3 separate regions of the Homo sapiens genome follow, and all the other regions are linked to region 2. Evidence: promoter capture Hi-C in human tissues and cell types (Jung and others, 2019). All regions are on one chromosome and are shown on one strand. The core of a region is centred on a gene start or on the middle of the fragment in contact, and the rest is flanking DNA. Distances in the headings are between cores, read along the strand shown. Region 1 overlaps RNF157 (ring finger protein 157). Region 2 holds the start of UBE2O (ubiquitin conjugating enzyme E2 O). Region 3 has its middle 16 kb from the start of ST6GALNAC2.

Region 1 (2,746 bases), core at 38-2,537, 230 kb before region 2:
GCCCAGCTCTAAACTAAAGGAATGATCTGGAGTGGAGGACTGGACCCCTGGGGAAAGGGGAAGAAGTTGCAAGAAGGTGAAGGGGGCAACCTGGTCGGGTTTTGTTAAACTTTCTGGGAGATGGCCAATTGGGTTCACCATCTGGGGGGGCACCTTATTAGTCTCCTGGACTAGGGGGGCAAAGAGATTACAAGTGTCATCCAACGTGGTCAAAAGGTCATCTGGCATGGTTTCCAGGTCATCTATACCCAACAGGGCACCAAAGTCGAACTCCTTCAAATCCATTTTCTCCAACATCCAATGTGTCCCAGAGAAGGCATCCTCCTTGCTGTTGTTGGAGGGACTGACCAACCCATCCACAGTCAGCCATTCGGAGGAGCCCGCCTTAGCCTTGTCGCTGGAGAACCCATGAGGTTTGAAGTGCTTGGCCACCTCCACGTAGTCATCTAAGAGACCTATGCTTTCTTCAGCCCCCAAACCCGACTGGTCGAAGGGGGACATCAAGTCCCCCACCAACACCTCGTTGCTCAGGAAGCTCATTTCGGTCATGTTGCGGTGCTTTGCTGGAATCGAGTAATGTGCTTAATTCGAAGGTGTCTTTGTCGGTTACAGCAATGCTGCTGCTGAATGCCGTGGGAAGCGCCATGGCTTAAGCCGCTGGGGGGTGCCGCTGCAGAGCCTGGTGCTGCTGCCGCCGCTGCAAAGGCCAATGCTGCCGCAGGCACTGCTGCCCCTAATATGCCATGGTGGCCGTGGACCCTGAGGGCGGGGAGGAGGGAAGGCGTGCACGTGCGGAAAAAACTACATCTGTGGGCAGGCAAAGTAGAAATGCCAAATAATATTAATAACCTCTTTTTTTGTTTTTTTTTTTTTTTGAGACGGGAGTCTCACTCTTGTCGCCTAGGCTGGAGTGCAATGAATGACACGATCTTGGCTCACTGCAACCTCTGCTTCCTGGGTTCAAGAGATTCTCCTGCCTCAGCCTCCCAAGTATCTGGGACTACAGGCACCTGCCACCACACTCAGCTAATTTTTGTATTTTTAGTAGAGACAGGGTTTTACCATGTTGGCCAGGCTGGTCTTGAACTCCTGACCTCAGGTGATCCGCCCACCTCAGCTTCCCAAACTGCTGGGATTACAGGCGTGAGTCACTGCGCCTGGCCTATAATCTCTTCAGAGGACTGACTCTATAACAGCACTGTACTAGCAAGTACTACACGGGTTATTCTTCACAACCCTTTGAAGATGTTGCTATTTTCTTTTCATTTTATAGAAGAGGAAACTAATGCACAGAGGTTAAATAATCTGTCCAAGGTCACACAGATAGTAAGAGGTAGTGGCCCGGCATGGTGGCTCACGCCTGTAATCCCAGCAGTTTGGGAGGCCGAGGTGGGCGGATCACCTGAGGTCGAGAGTTGGAGACCAGCCTGACCAACATGGAGAAACCCTGTCTCTACCAAAAATACAAAATTAGCCGGGCGTGGTGATGCAGGCCTGTAGTCCCAGCTACTCAGGAGGCTCAGGCAGGAGAATCGCTTGAACCCGGGAGGCAGAGGTTGCGGTGAGCCAAGATCGCCCCATTGCACTCCAGCCTGGGCAACAAGAGCGAAACTCCATCTCAAAAAAAATTTAAAAAAAGAGGTAGTGTCAGGTCCCCAAATCTAGCTATATTTATTCCAGAACCTGTGCTCTTAACCATTATAATGTATTCCCATTGAATGTCCAGATTTAATTAACTGTTTCCCTACTGATAAACATTCTCTTTACAGTTTATGTTGCTTCCTGTTTTTTACAAATGGAATTCATAGATGTAGACTTTGTGGGGTTTTTTTCTAAAAAGAAATAAAAAAAACCATTTATGGAATATTCCATTTCCCCCCACTAATTTAAATTCTATTCTTATGCTAAATATACTTAGATCTGGACTCTTCTATTCTGGACCAGTACAACACAGACTGAACAACGGTAGCTTCACAGCATTTAGAGAAAGGCACACATCAATGCGTCTAAAACCCTTCCCACATTCTCAAGTCCCAACCCCAACCCTGTACCCTTCTTCCTTGTGGTGCTCTCAGAACCCTTATGCATTACAATAGTTTCAACACCTAACAACTTCCCCATATTTCTACCCATACTTTCTTCCAGTCTCAAGGAGGCATTCCTCCTTTCCAAGGTTAACTTCTTCACCTGAGTTCTCATTCCCAACTGCCTCTACCTCACCTGAGACCACATCTGTAACCATCCTTCTTGTTTAACACTTGCGTTCCTCTCTCTCCACTGGCTTCTTACTTACCTCATCCTACAAGCATATACTGGTCTCCCCAACTCAAATAACAAATACCAAAAAAGTTCCATCTGCCATGTCTTACTAACCAGTCACTTGGGCTGGGCACAGTGGCTCACACCTGTAATCCCAGCACTTTGGGAGGCTGAGGCAGATGAATCACCTGAGGTCAGGAGTTCGAGACCAGCCTGGCCAACATGGTGAAACCCCCTCTCTACTAAAATACAAACTTAGCCGGGCGTGGTGGTGGGCGCCTGTAATCCCAGCTACTCGGGAGGCTGAGGCAGGCGGAGAATCACCTGAACCTGGGAGGCAGAGGTTGCAGTGAGCTGAGACTGCGCCATTGGACTCCAGCCTGGGCGACAGAGTGAGACTCCATTTCAAAATAATAATAATAATACAAAAAAAAAAATTCACTCACCCACCCACTCACCCATCCATCGATTCATCCTGTCCTTTCAC
Region 2 (2,700 bases), core at 117-2,616:
GTGTGTGTGTGTGTGTGTCAATTACTGATAGGAATTCACATTCTGGAAAACAAGCCACCAAACCAACCCGGGTTCAAGGTTTCGGGTTTATGATGACAAGCCTCTTTGTTTTGTAAAACTGCTATACTCACTAGCATCACCCCAAAAACCATACGGGAGTCAGATGTCTGCTTAACAGCTTCAGGTCAAGAAAAAACCTTCGGGTTTCCAAATTGGTGACTCCCCTCTACCCAGGGTTCTGGATTATTTTTTTCAAGGAGTCCATATGCACTTAGGAGTCATCAATCCCGGTCGCAGCTGTCAGAATCCTCCCCCCCAAGTACTATTCATACCGGGGCTCTGATTGCTAATGATTTTACTCACAAAGTTCCCTGCAGCAATTAAAAGGAGGCAGCAGGGTAAAACAAAAAGAGGCTGGGTGGCTTCACCATAATGCAGCCTGTAAGCTAGTGAACTTCTTGGGTTCGGCTGGGATTTTCACCTCTATCTTTGTTTTGGAATGCCCACAACCCCTCCCTGCACGGACCCGGCACGGCCTTCATTTCTGGATGCACAATGCAGTACCGAGCTCCTTGGGGGTCAGCAAAACGCCGCACTGGTGTAACGCCGAACGCGCCCCAGAACCTGAGTCCCCACGGGAGTCGGTCCACGTCTCTAAATCTCGAGGCCGACACCACAGCATAACATGTCTTAGAAGTCCCCTCAAGTCGGGAAGCCCAGGGCCCGCCCGGTCCCGGGCCAGCAGTGCCTGGCTGGCGTGTGCGCCCAGAGCTGCTGCAATGACTTTGCATGGAGTGTACCCTCCACTGGGGCTGTCCTCCCGCGTCGGCCACTGCAGTGGCACCGCTCCGGGCAGGGCCCTGCACGCCGTCCTTCCCTGGCCTCGGCCCGGCCGCCGACCCCCTGCCGCCCGCGCCGCCCAGCCCCCGCCCGCCGCACCTTGGTCTCCTTCACATGCTGCTTGACGCCCTCCGGGTACCACTGGACGCGCACGTAGCCGCGGCGCAGGGGGCTGGCCCGGCCCTCCTCGTGGCCCGCGCCCCCGGCCTCGGAGCACCCCGAGCTCCCGCGGCCCTCCTCCTCGCCCTCCGAGTCCGAGTCCTCGCCGTGGATGAGGCGCACCAGCCCGAAGTGCACGGAGCCACGGTAACGGCCCGACACCAGGTCGTGAGAAAACAGCAGGCGCTGCGAGCCGGCTTCTGGGCCGGAGTCCGAGGACGGCCCGGAGGCCGAGTCCGAGGCGGGCGCCGGCGCCGGGACGGGGGCTGCGGCTGGGGCCGGGACTGCCTCCGGGGCTGGAGCCGGGGCCTGGGCTGGAGCGGGAGCTGCGGGCGTGGGGGCTGCGGGATCCGCCATAACTGCTCTGCGCGAGTCTCGGGCGGCGGCGGCGACAGCGGCGGCGAACGAGGCGCGGGGAGGCGGGACCAGCGGGCGCCGGGGGCGGGGCCATAGCGCGCTGACGTGTCCCTGCGTGGCGCCGTCGTCAGGGAGCCGGGATGCAGTTGCTAGGAGCCACCGCCTCGTCGCTAGGGGACGCTGAAGATGCCGCGGGGGGCGGGGGCAGGATGGAATCCACTAAGAAGGGGCGAGACCAGTGAGGATTCAACTAAAGGGAGCGAGAAGGGGCGGGGACCCGGGAGGAGGAAGTGGAGTGGCCACCGAGGAAGAGGGGAGTGGTCGGGGTGGGGCACAGGATGGTGGAGAGACTGTCAACAACTTTTAATGAGCTCCCTTGGCGTCCTAGCCTAGCCCCCAGGCACTGGGAGCATTGCAGAAAGAGAAAGATACTGTCCCTGTCCTCTAGGTGTTTCCAGTCTAGTTGGGGAGACAAAACAAATACACATTAAATAGATAACAAACAACTCCAACTTGTAAGGCTATAATAGATACGTGTAGAGCATATGTATAATGCACTGTATTCAGGAATTCCAAGCAGTTCGAACGTCATGACCCCTCAGAAGTTGACCCAGAAGCTGGTGAAGGAGGCCCAGAGAAAGGTAACAAAAGGATCAGTGGTCCCAGTGGTTTGGCTACAAATCCATGCAGATAAATTCAAAGCTCCCTGAAGCCAAGAATGAATGGCAAGAGGTAGTATAGTAAGGTAGCTAAGAGTGGGGACCACGGATTCCAATTTTTGGCACTGCCACTTACTAATCTATAAAAATAGGCACACTGATTAACTTATTTTCATCTTAATTTGCTCATCTGTGAAATAGGGATGATAATAGCAATACTCATCTCATTGGGCAATTGGAGGATTAAGTGAAGTAGAACAGTGCCTGGCATTTAGCTCCTTCGATAAGCTTAACCATTGTTGTACTATTTCCAAACTCCCTGCCTAGACTAAATTCCAGACTGGCAGAACTGTTATGGTCTGCTCCATATTGTCATTTTAAAATATAAAAAGTAGGCCGGGCGCGGCAGCTCACACCTGTCATCCCAGTACTTTGGGAGGCTGAGGTGGGCGGATCACGAGGTCAAGAGATTGAGACCATCCTGGCCAACATGGCGAAACCCCATCTCTACTAAAAATACGGAAAAAAAAAAAAAATAGCTGGGCGTGGTGGCACATGGCTGTAGTCCCAGCTACTCAGGAGGCTGAGGCAGGCAAATCGCTTGAACCTGGGAGGCTGAGGTTGCAGTGAGCCCAGATCGCGCCACTGCACTCCACCCTGGGCAACAGAGCAAGACTCTGTCTCA
Region 3 (2,700 bases), core at 94-2,593, 150 kb after region 2:
CCCAACCTGCCTTGAGATTCTGAGGAAGCTGGTGTGTGCGTGAGTGTGTGTGTGTGAGTGTGTGTGTGTGTTTGTGTATGTGAAGGGGGTCGGGGTCAGGCCTCTAGTTCCCTGTTCCCCAGTGCCAACACAGAACTATTCTTTGTGCCCACCCAGTATGTGATAATCCAGAAAATGCCACATTTTTGTATAAACCGATTTGCAAACAATTTTGTAGATAAGTATAAATCCTCAAGCTTGGTACAGTGTACTTTTCTCCTTCTGTGAACACAATGTTTGACTTTAAGCTTTCCTTTAAATACCAGTCAAAGCAGGGAATAGTGACTTATGCCTGTAATCCCAGTACTTTGGGAGGCCGAGGTGGGCCGATCGCTTGAGCCCAAGAGTTCGAGACAAGCCTAGGCGACATCGTGAGACCCTGTCTCTACCAAAAAGAGAGAAAAAAAGTTAACTGGGTGTGGTGGCACATATGCAGGAAGCTAAGGTGGGAGGATCGTTTGAGCCTGGGAGTTCAAGGCTGCAGAGAGCTGCAATAGCGCCACTGCACTCCAGCCTGGGTGATGGGGTGAGACCCTCTCTCAAAAATAAATACATACAGTCAACAGGACATGTGAGGACTGCCATGGAGACCAGCATGAATGCAACACTATCCTCTGAGTACACTTTAGACTTTCCATTACTATCACCAGAAAGGGGTCCCAATCCAGACCCCAAGAGAGGGTTCTGGGATCTCATGCAATAAAGAATTTAGGGTGAGTCCAGAGTAAAGTGAAAGCAAGTTTGTTAGAGAAGTAAAGAAACAAAAGAATAGCTATTCCATAGGCAGAGCAGCCCCAAGAGCTGCTGGGTGGCTATTTTTTTTATTTATTTTTATTTTTAGTAGAGATGGGGTTTCATGGTGTTAGCCTGGATGGTCTCAATCTCCTGACCTTGTGATCCACCCGCCTCCGCCTCCCAGTGGGTGGCTATTTTTATGGTTATCTCTTGATCATATGCTAAACGAGGAGTGGATTATTATGTTTTCCAGGAAACGGGTGGGGATTTTTTGGAAATGAGGTTTCCTCCCCCTTTTAGACCATATAAGGTAACTTCTGAACGTTGCCATGGCATTTCTAAGCTTTCATGGTGCCGGTGGGAGTGACTTTAGCATGCTAATGCATTATAATTAGCATATAATGGGCAGTGAGGACTATTAGAGGTTACATTTGTTGCCATCTTGGTTTTGGCTGGCTTCTTTACTGCATCCTGTTTTATCAGCAGGGTCTTTGTGACCTGTATCTTGCGAGCTCCTATCTCACCCTATGACTAAGAATGTCTAACCCCCTAGGAATGCAGTACAGCAGGTCTCAACCTCATTTTACCCAGTCCCTATTCAAGATGGAGTCACTCTGGTTGAAGTGCCTGTAACATTACTAACACAAATATCTGTCCTGCTTCTGAATCTCTCTTGATCTCTCCAATGCACCCTCGACCCAGGAGCAACTTTTGGACCCTTTGCCTACTCCTCACTGCAAAAAAGAACAAGATCAAAAACTGCTGATCCTAGGCTGGGCATGGTGGCTCACACCTGTAATCCCAGCATTTTGGGAGGCCAAGGCAGGCGGACCGCCTGAGGTCGAGAGTTTGAGACCAGCCTGGCCAACATGGCGAAATCCCGTCTCTACTAAAAATACAAAAATTAGCCAGGTGTGGTGGCAGGCACCTGTAATCCCAGCTACTCGGGAGGCTGAGGCAGGAGAATCACTTGTACCTGGGAGGCAGAGGTTGCAGTGAGCCCAGATCGTGCCATTACATTCCAGCCTTGGCGAGAGAACAAGACTTTGTCTCAAAAAAAAAACAAAAAACCCAAAAAAACTGCTGACCCAGAAGCAGAGAATTGCGAGACGTGTTAGATCTGTACTTTAACCTTTTAAATCCTCTAAAACAGCTGAATTAGTTGTCTAAGTCCCAGGCATGTGAGAAAAGAGGAAAAATAATGTTAAATCCGTGAGTAACTGTGTGAGCCCTTGCACCAGTGACTCTGAAAGGCGGAAGAGAAAGAGAGACTGGGGTTGTTGAAAGATAAATTATGCTGCAACGTTTAATGGATAAGCCATGGTTTACCCACCGGTAAAACACTCAATTCCTGGCCCAGGCTTTGAATCATTGCAAGGGCACTCCTTGGGAAGAGGACATAGTTGGAGGCTGTTAGTCTGTTTTTACATTGCTATAAATACCTGACAGTGGATAATTTATAAAGAAAAGAGGTTTAATTGGCTCATTGTTCTGCAGGCTGTACAGGAAGCATGGTGCCCACATCTGCTTGGCTTCTGGTGAGGCCTCAGGGAGCTCTTATTCATGGCGGAAGGTGAAGTGGGAGCAGGCATGTCACTTGGAGAGAGAGCAATAGAGAGAAGGGAGAGGTCCCAGACTCTTAAACAACCAGACCTTGCATGAACTAACTGAGCAAAACTCACTTATCACCAAGGGGATGTTGCTGAGCCATTCATGAAGGATCTACCCCATGATCGAATCACCCCCCATCAGGCCCCACATCTAACATTAGGAATCATGTTTCAACATGAGGTTTGGAGGGGACACACATCCAAACCATATCAGAGGCCGTAGAGTTTGGAAGCCTGAACTTGCACTTGGGGTTTTTGGTCTAAGCTGGAAGGAGTCAAGAAAAAGGATGGGGCTGGGCGCGGTGACTCACACCTG

The links. Contacts are between HindIII fragments. The study calls those that stand out against the background at their distance.
Region 1: a contact is called between a fragment that was not itself captured here and the fragment with the promoter of UBE2O in region 2, in 2 of the 25 tissues and cell types used here (aorta and heart right ventricle).
Region 3: a contact is called between a fragment that was not itself captured here and the fragment with the promoter of UBE2O in region 2, in 3 of the 25 tissues and cell types used here (H1 embryonic stem cells, aorta and bladder).

Annotation. Positions count from the first base shown.
Region 1 is chr17:76,226,258-76,229,003 of GRCh38, forward strand. The region is part of intron 1 of RNF157 (ring finger protein 157); the gene reads right to left. It also overlaps the pseudogene ATF4P3. Among named protein-coding and RNA genes, the nearest start is that of RNF157, 13 kb to the right of the region's middle. The HindIII fragment of the contact is 9,258 bases long and covers 1-2,746 here.
Region 2 is chr17:76,451,786-76,454,485 of GRCh38, forward strand. UBE2O (ubiquitin conjugating enzyme E2 O) reads right to left here and starts at 1,367. Exons shown (of 18, transcript NM_022066.4): 1 at 940-1,367. The coding sequence starts at 1,356. It also overlaps a transcript of AANAT not described here. RefSeq lists silencers at 719-918, 1,039-1,578, 1,373-1,541. The HindIII fragment of the contact is 12,276 bases long and covers 1-2,700 here.
Region 3 is chr17:76,600,755-76,603,454 of GRCh38, forward strand. No RefSeq gene overlaps it. Among named protein-coding and RNA genes, the nearest start is that of ST6GALNAC2, 16 kb to the left of the region's middle. RefSeq lists a silencer at 333-627 and enhancers at 478-1,677, 1,004-1,551, 1,552-2,098. The HindIII fragment of the contact is 3,370 bases long and covers 1-2,700 here.